Linked DNA regions of Homo sapiens: region 2 is linked to region 1. Evidence: promoter capture Hi-C in human tissues and cell types (Jung and others, 2019). All regions are on one chromosome and are shown on one strand. The core of a region is centred on a gene start or on the middle of the fragment in contact, and the rest is flanking DNA. Distances in the headings are between cores, read along the strand shown.

Region 1 (4,447 bases), core at 888-3,387:
CGCTACAGCCCAGAGGTTATACATTTCAACAGAACAGGGATCCTTGGCTACTGTAGAAGCAGTCCTGTATGGAGACCTTGGACCAGCAGGGGAAGATCTATGGGCATGGGAGGTGGGCGTTGGAAAGGCTGAGTAGGAATGGTGCCTGGCACCCCTGAACCATGATCTGAGCCTCCCTGGAGAAGGTATTTTATATGTCTGCTGCCAGCTGCTGGTCTCCACACCCTCAACCGTTCTCAACCCCCCTGCAGGGAGAAGGCCTCCTGGGCACTGTCCTTCCACCTGTGCCAGCCACCCCCTGCCCCACTGCTGAATGAAGGCCATTTCAAGCGCTGCTTCTCACTCCATTCCTCTCAGCTGTTATTGCTGCAGGGCCAAGCCCTTTTTAGTGCTGTGCTCGTCCAGCTCACCACCACAGCCCCTCTCAGCCCTCAGTAGGTGGGAGGGGCCAGCTGCCTCTTTAGGCCAGTTGCATCCTCCATTTATCCAAACCACTCCTCTCCTCCCAGTGGAGTGGGGTTCTGCCAGTACAGCCCTACTGCATCATCTGCGTCAGCCGGTCCTAGCCCATCTGCAGGGTGAAAGAACTCATCAAGAGCTCCTTCTGCCCTTGTAAGCCCATCCCAGCTACTTGTAACCATCTCTAAGGGCAATGGCATTGCTCCCTACCCATTCATCTGCATGAGCTACTCTTGGCTTCCTTAAAGGGTCAAGAAAGCAATTTTTCTGCTTACTAGATTCATTGAGATCAGCTGTGTGAGCCCCAAAGTGGGACAAGGGTGTCTCCTTCATTACTTAAAGATATTCATGAGGGTGGGTCACTACAGATGTTGGGGAGCAAGGGCTAGGATCACTTTTTAAAAAATCACCACTTGTGGCTGTCCCAGAGTGCGGTTGTACATCCTCCCCACCTCATAACGCAGCCACTGAGGAAGAGTGGTTTTCCTAAGAAGACATTGCTGGAGTTGACTTTCTTCTGTCCAAACAAACAAACAAAAACTAAACACACACACAAACCCCCAGAAACCCACAATATGTACACGCTAAGGAAAAACTAGCACCCTTCTGTCCACTCAGCAATAAGAGGGATCTCTTCCCACCTACCCTACCTACTCCTACCCCCAACCCCCTTCCCCATTAATGTGAGTAATGAATTAGCCTGACCACAGGTGGTCACTGTAGGCTAATGGAAAATACCCAAGGGAGGGCAAAGCCCCCCATCAGATGCATGAATGTTTGCGAATGTTGACTGCCACTGCCCCACACACTGTGTCTTTATAGAATTCCCCTTTGCCCACCCTCTTCCTGTCTCCACCTGGACACAACTTGCTCAAAGGCTGGTGACTTGTGGGCCATTCATCTACAACCAAGTCCTGATGGAGCAAGAGGCCCACGCCTAGGGGATGCAAGAACAACCCGTTTCTTAAATGTTACCAGTCCCAGCCAATCTTACGGTGACATTACAGTTAAATTTCCCAATTGAAAACAAGCAAACAGACACTCAAACTGGTCCTGTAATTGTTGCTAGACTTTATGTGTTGTACAACTAAACATTGCTGTTTGAACAGTAACTGCCTGGCCTGTCTTATTTGTGCTCCTTGACCAAATCAGCCATTATGTCATCTCACCCATGTGTGGAGGGTGAGACTCTCTTGGTAAGAAATAGCCACAGATATTAGAGATGAAAACACTTTGTGAGGTCAGTTCATCTTCAGTTGGCGTCAGGTCGGGCCTCAGTCATTATTTTCTAGTGTTTCATAACCAAAGTGAGTAATGGATGGGAGGTTGAGGTGGGAAGATGGCTTGAGCATGGGAGGTTGGAGGTGCAGTGAGCTGAGATCATTCCTGACAGGACCAACCCAAGTCCATACCTAAAGGCAGGGGGCTAAGGGGGCAGGTGAGGTCGGGAGGCCACTCACCTATCACTCACCCCTTCGCGCTCGAGCCAATTCTCAGGGCCCGCCTCTTTCTCCCCTTTCTCGGCGGGGGCCTCTACCCTGACTCCGCCCCGCTCCCCGGGCACTGCCCCACCACGTGACCCGGTCTCGCTCCTCCTCCTCCTCCTCCTTACGTCATAATCTCCGCCCTCCCCTTCAGAACCGCGCCCCACAGCTCGGCGCAGGTCCCGCCCCTTTCCATCTACGGGGCGGCAGGAGGCCCGAAGCAAGATGGCGGTGAATCAGAGCCACACCGAGAACCGCCGCGGAGCCCTCATCCCTAACGGTGAAAGGTGCCTGAGGGGAAGCACGGCGTGCTGTCGGAGGAGAGGAGACGAATGAGATAGACATGGCGGCTCGCAAACTCTCAGCGAGTCAGGGACTTTGCCGCCTTTTTTGGGCGCGGCGCTCTTAGCTCCGCCCCCGACCTTTGGGAGCGCGCGCCCCTCACTGGTGTTCCGGCATGTGGAGGTGGCGGAGGCCGGAACGCGTGGCCTCGCGCGTTTGAGGGGTGGGGGTGGGAATGCGCCTTTTCAAGGCGCGGGGCCCAGACGCATGTCTCCTCAGGGCGGGGCGGGGAGGGGGTGCGAGACGCGTGTGTCCTTCGAAGAGAGGCCGGAGCTGACCGGCGGTTGTGAGCAGCCGGGGGCCTTCGGTGGCAGCGTGGCTGCCCTTGGGTGCCTGCGACTTTGTTGGATGAGGACAGGTACTGGGTGTGTATCTCCTCCTACTTCCACGAACAAGGTGTCGCTCTTTGGTAAGAGGGATGAGGAGGTCGAGTGTGGATCATTCTGGAAAGATCTCAAACTGTTGTGGGGCTTCTCCTTGGACCTGGAAACTTTCTAAAGCCATGTTTCCTCCTTGCTCCAACCAGGGAGATGTCTGCTTTTAAAAACAAAATTGAAAAAATTGAGGCCAGGTGCAGTGGCTCATGCCTCTTATCCCAACAGTTTGGGAAGCTGAGGTGGCCCAGGAGTTTGAGACAAGACTGGGCAACATAGTGAGACCCCATCTCTACAAAAAGTAGAAAATTAGTGGGCCATGGTGGTGTGCACCCATAATCCCAGCTGCTTGGGAGGCGATGGTAAGAGGATTGCTTGAACCCAGGAGTTTGGGCTGCAGTGAGCTCAGATTGTACCACTGCACTCCAGCCTGGGTAACAGAGCCAGATCCTGTCTTAAAATAAAAGATGGGACTGAACAGATGCCTGGGCACAACAAAGCACTGTTGGTCGCAGGAAGCTGTGGGGCTTACACCAGTTGCTTTGCTCCTTGCGGTGCCTGCTGCTGGCCCCTGAGCTCTCTACTGGAGCAGACTCAGCCAGAGGGGTGCCCATCTCCACCTTCAAGCACACTTGTTCACTAAGGCCTGACTCCACTGCGCTCACCTCTTTACCCCACACGCCCCCTTTCCCGTTTCCTACACTCAAACTCAGTCTCCCCCGCTGTGCAGTTCTAAATTGCGCTCCTTTCTGGGCTCTGACTTGCCCTCAATTTCCTTTTCTCCCAACCAGCATTGAAACTCAAGCTGGATGATGTGCTTGGGGCCAGCACACTCAGGTCAGTTTGAATGTAGTTGTCAGGAAGATCGAAGTAGACGTTACCAAATGCTGATATCCAGGTCTTTCTTCTATCTTTCCTTCCTCCAGAAAGTTTTCTTGACAGATTTATATGGGCCTTAGAGGTTGTATGTTCTCACCTGCTTCCTACGTACCTCTGCTGCTTTGTTCCATTTTGTGGTAGATGATTGCTCACCACTCTGACAGTGGTGTCCCCGTGAGCACTTACTGAGAGCCATTTGAGCACTTGTCATTCCATGGTGTGAAGCCTTTCTTTTCTTTTCTTTTTTCTTTTCTTAAGATATTTTTATTTCTCCAAATTTGTTATTTATTAGGAGTGACTGAAATAAAAAACATAATTGAGTCCCATCATCATCATCATCATAGAAATGGCTTTAAGAGAAAACTGGTCAGATGACTATTATTGCTTCCCATTTCCAACCAGTGAATAGTTGCCACTGATAAATTGACAGCGAGGAGTCTGTCAAGAATGCTCAAGATAGCCGGGCGCGGTGGCCCACGCCTGTAATCCCAGCACTTTGGGAGGCCCAGGTGGGTGGATCACAAGATCGGGAGTTCAGGAGCAGCCTGGCCAATATGTTGAAACCCCATCTCTACTAAAAATACAAAAAAAAAAAAAACAGCCGGGAGTGGTGGCGGATGTCTGTAGTCCCAGCTACTCAGGAGGTTGAGGCAGGAGAATTGCTTGAACCCAAAAGGTGAATCACCCAAAAGGTGAACCAAAAGGTTGAGGCAGGAGAATTGCTCCACCAAAAGGTGGAGGTTGCAGTGAGCCGAGATTGTGCCACTGCACTCCACCCTGGGCAATAGAGGGAGACTCCGTCTCAAAAAAAAAGAATGCTCAAGATATGTCATATAATACAACATGCCTGTTCAAAGGGGGAAAAATCTTAGGAAATAACTTACATGTACTTCTTGGTTTCATCATACA
Region 2 (4,447 bases), core at 804-3,303, 460 kb after region 1:
CAATCTCAGCTCACTGCAACATCCACCTCCCAGGTTCAAGCGATTCTCGTGCCTCAGCCTCCCAAGTAGCTGGGATTACAGGCATCTGCCACCATGCCCGGCTAATTTTTTTGTATCTTTAGGAGAGACAGGGTTTCACCATGTTGGCCAGCTGGTCTCAAACTCCTGAGCTCAAGAGATCTGCCCACCTTGGCCTCCCAAAGTGCTGGGATTACAGGCATGAGCCACTGTGCCCGGCCTGTTACACAGTCATAGACATCTATAAAATACTCAACACGGTGCCGGCGCATGGCAAGCATCAGTTACTGACCACGGTGACCCTTCTGTGTACACCAGGGGAACTCAAAATACTCAGGAAATCTAAGCATATAAGCCTAGTCACCAGGCTGTCGACATGACCCTTAACAATGAACCTGTGTCTTTTGCCACCTCATGATGTCATAGAAGAAGAGCAGCATCAATGTTAAGAGTCTGGAGGAGGGACTAGATGCTGTGGCTCACACCTGTAATCCCAGCACTTTGGGAGGCCGAGGCAGGTGGATCACCTGAGGTCAGGAGTTCGAGACCAGCCTGGCCAACATGGTGAAACTTTGTGTTTACTAAAAAATACAAAAAATTAGCCAGGCATAGTGGCATGCACCTGTAATCCCAGCTACTCTGGAGGCTGAGGCAGGAGAATCTCTTGAACCTAAAATCTAAAAAATAAGACCACGCCAAGGAAAAAAATCAGTAACAGTATAGAGGGGATGGAAGCAGACCTCTTTAATACACCTTGTTCTTCAGTTTTGACTTTGCCATCATGTAAATGCTTTATTTAGTTCTAAATCAAATTTAAATTGAAAAAAAAAAATTCCCAGGCCAGGGCGGCGGCTCATGCCTGCGATCCCAGCACTTTGGGAGGCTGAGGTGGGCAGGTCAACTAAGCCCAAGAATTTGAGACCAGCCTGGGCAATATGACAAAACCCCATCTCTACAAAAAATACAAAATTAGCCAGATGTGGTGGTGCAGGTGCTTGGAGGCTGCTTGGGAGGCTGAGGTGGGAGGATGACCTGGGCCTGAGAGGTGGAGTTTGCAGTGAGTCGAGATTGCACCACTGCACTCCAGCCTGGGTGACAGAGTGAGGCCCTGTCTCAAAAAAGAAAAAAAAAAAAGTATTTCCTAGTTGATTTTTGTTCAACTTCAATTAATCATAATCTACCTTCTTTTTTTTGTTTTTGAGACAAGAGTCTCGCTCTGTTGCCCAGGATGGAGTGCAATGGTGTGAACTGCAACCTCTGTCTCCTGGGTTCAAGCAATTCACCTGCCTCAGCCTCTTGAGTAGTTGGGATTACAGGTGTCCACCACCACACCTGGCTAAATTTTGTACTTTTAGTAGAGATGGAGTTTCACCATGTTGGTCAGGCTGGTCTCAAACTCCTGACCTCATGATCCACCCACTTCGGGCTCCCAAAATGCTGGGATTACAGGCGTGAGCCACCGTGCCCTGCCAATCACAATCTACCTTTAAGTGATAATATGCTACCTTTTTTTTTTTTTTTTTAGACAGTCTCGCTCTGTCCCTCAGGCTGGAGTGCAGTGGCGCAATCTTGGCTCACTGCAAGCTCTGCCTCCCGGGTTCACGCCATTCTCCTGTCTCAGTCTCCCAAGTAGCTGGGACTACAGGTGCCTGCCACCATGCCCGGCTAATTTTTTGTATTTTTAGTAGAGACAGGGTTTCACCGTGTTCGCCAGGATGGTCTCTATCTCCTGACCTTGTGATCCGCCTGCCTCAGCCTCCCAAAGTGCTGGAATTACAGGCATGAGCCACCATGCCCAGCCAATATACTACTTAATATAAAGCATAAGAACATTGGCCAGGTGCGGTGGCTTATGCCTGTAATCCCAGCACTTTGGGAGGCTGAGGAGGGTAGATTGCTTGAGCCCACAAGTTTGAGACCAGTGACACCCCATCTCTACAAAAAAATGTAAAAAATTAGCTGGGTATGGTAGTACATGCCTGTAGTCTCAGCTACTTGGGATCGCTTGAGCCCAGGAAGTCAAGGCTGCAGTGAGCCATGATTGTGCCACTGCACTCCAACCTGGGCAACAGAGCAAGACCCTATCCCCACTCCCCACCCTCCCAAAAAAAAGAACCTAAAAGTAGTGTATTTCTGATTCTCCACATACACACTCCATCTATTTAAGAAACTACAATAAATACAATGAGTTCAGGCTGGATGCGGTGGCTCATGACTGTAATCCCAGCACCTTGGGAGGCAGAGGTTGGTGGATCGCTCCACTGTACTCCAGCCTGGGTGACAGAGCGAGACTCTGTCTCAAAATAAATAAATGAATAATAAAATAAAAAGTAAATGGTCTAGGCCTGGCCAACATGGTGAAACCCTATCTCTACAAAAAATACAATATTTAGCCGGGTGTGGTGGTGTGCACCTGTAGTCCCAGCTACTGCGGAGGCTGAGGCAGGAGGATCACTTGAGCCCAGGAAGTGAAGGCTGCAGTGAGCCACAATTGCGCACCACTACACTCCAGCCTGGGTGACAGAGTGAGACCCTTTCTAAAAAAAAAAAAAAAAGGAAAGAAAAGAAAATGTCCAAATTTAAAGGCAGAGATTGTCAGATTGGATTAAAAAAAGATTCAGTATCCTATTTATAAGAAACACACTTCAAATATAAAGACACAAATAGGTTAAAAGTAGAAGGATGGAAAAAGACATACCTACCATGCTATCACAAATCCAAAAAAAGCTAGCGTGGCTTATCAATATCAGACCAAGTAGATTGTATAGCAGAAGACATTACCAGGGATAAAGAGGTTAATTCAATAATGATTAAGGGGTCAGTTATTCCAGAGGACATAACAATTCTAAACGTTTATGTACCTAATAACAGAGCTTCAAAACACTTGAAGCAAAAACTTATAGAACAGCAAAGAGAAATGGAAAAGTTGACAATCATAGTTGAAGATGTCAATACCCTGCTTTCAATAATTGATAGAATTGATAGAATAGCTGGGTATAGCCGTGTATCACCTGTAGTCCCAGCTACTCAGGAGGCTGTGGCAGGAGAAGCACTTTAGCCCAGGACTTGAGTCTAGTCTGGACAACATAGTGAGATCCCACCTCTGAATAAATACATAGAAATTGATAGAATGAATAGACAGAAAACCAGCAAATATATAGAAGATTTGAACAACATTATCAACCAACTCGATCCAATGGACATTTATAAAACACTTTACCCAACAACAGCAGAATACACATTCCTCTCAAGTTCACACAGAATATTTACCAACATAGACAATATTCTGAGACATTAAACAAGTCTCAGTACATTTAAAGGGACTCAAGTCATTCAAAGTATGCTCTCTTACAATGGAATTAAATTAGAAATTGGTAACAGAAAGAGCTCTGAAAATGCCCAAATAACTTGAAAACGAAATAACACACTTCTAAATAATCCACGGGTCAAAAAAGAAGTCAAAAGAGAAGTCAGAAAGTATTTTGAACTGACTGAAAAGGAAAACCCAACATATCAAGTTGTGTGGTATTATTAGCTGTACGTTTCTTTGTAGATGCTATTTATCAGGTTGAAGAAGTTCTCTATTCTCAGTTTGCTGGGAATTTTTTTTTTTGTTTTTTGTTTTTTGAAACTGATTCTGGCTCTGTCACTCAGGCTGGAGTGCAGTGGCGTGATCTCGGCTCACTGCAAGCTCTGCCTCCTGGGTTCACACCATTCTCCTGCCTCAGCCTCCCGAATAGCTGGGACTACAGGCGCCCGCCACCACGCCCGGCTAATTTTTTGTATTTTTAGTAGAGACGGGGTTTCACTGTGTTAGCCAGGATTGTCTCGATTTCCTGACCTCGTGATCTGCCCGCCTCGGCCTCCCAAAGTGCTGGGATTACAGGCATGAGCCACCACGCCCGGCCATTTTTTTTTTTTTTAATTATGAATGGGTGTTGGATTTTTGTCAAAAGCTTTTCTTGCATCAATTGATATGATCCTATGATTTTCTTCTTTATCCTGTTGGTATGCTAAATTGCATTAATTTTTTTGTGTTTTTGTTTTATGAGACTGAGTCTCACTCTGTAGTCCAAGCTGAAGTGCAGTGGCATGCAGTGGTCAGCTCACTGCGACCTCCGCCTCCGGGGCTCGGGCTTAAGCTATTCTCGTGCCTCAGCCTCCCGAGAAGCTGGGACTACAGGCGCATGTCACATGCCACCATGCCCAGCTAATTGTTTGTATTTTAGTAGAGATGGGGTTTCACCATGTTGCCCAGAGTGGTCTCGAACTCCTGATCTCAGGCCATCCACCTGCCTCGGCCTCCCAAAATGCTGAGATTACAGGTGTGAGCCACTGTGCCCTGCCTAATTAATTTTTGAATATTGAGTCAGCTTTGCACACTGCCAATGCAATCAAGATGTAGTTATTCTTAGGCTGGGCATGGTGG

The links. Contacts are between HindIII fragments. The study calls those that stand out against the background at their distance.
Region 2: a contact is called between a fragment that was not itself captured here and the fragment with the promoter of WBP2NL in region 1, in 1 of the 25 tissues and cell types used here (dorsolateral prefrontal cortex).

The regions. Positions count from the first base shown.
Region 1 is chr22:41,996,651-42,001,097 of GRCh38, forward strand. WBP2NL (WBP2 N-terminal like) reads left to right here and starts at 2,138. Exons shown (of 6, transcript NM_152613.3): 1 at 2,138-2,230. The coding sequence starts at 2,169. SEPTIN3 (septin 3) reads left to right here. Exons shown (of 12, transcript NM_001363845.2): 12 at 252-1,571. The coding sequence ends at 317. It also overlaps the pseudogene SLC25A5P1. RefSeq lists enhancers at 1,688-2,204, 2,205-2,719, 4,054-4,447 and a silencer at 2,031-2,090. The HindIII fragment of the contact is 18,305 bases long and covers 1-4,447 here.
Region 2 is chr22:42,453,421-42,457,867 of GRCh38, forward strand. No RefSeq gene overlaps it. Among named protein-coding and RNA genes, the nearest start is that of NFAM1, 23 kb to the left of the region's middle. The HindIII fragment of the contact is 8,803 bases long and covers 1-4,447 here.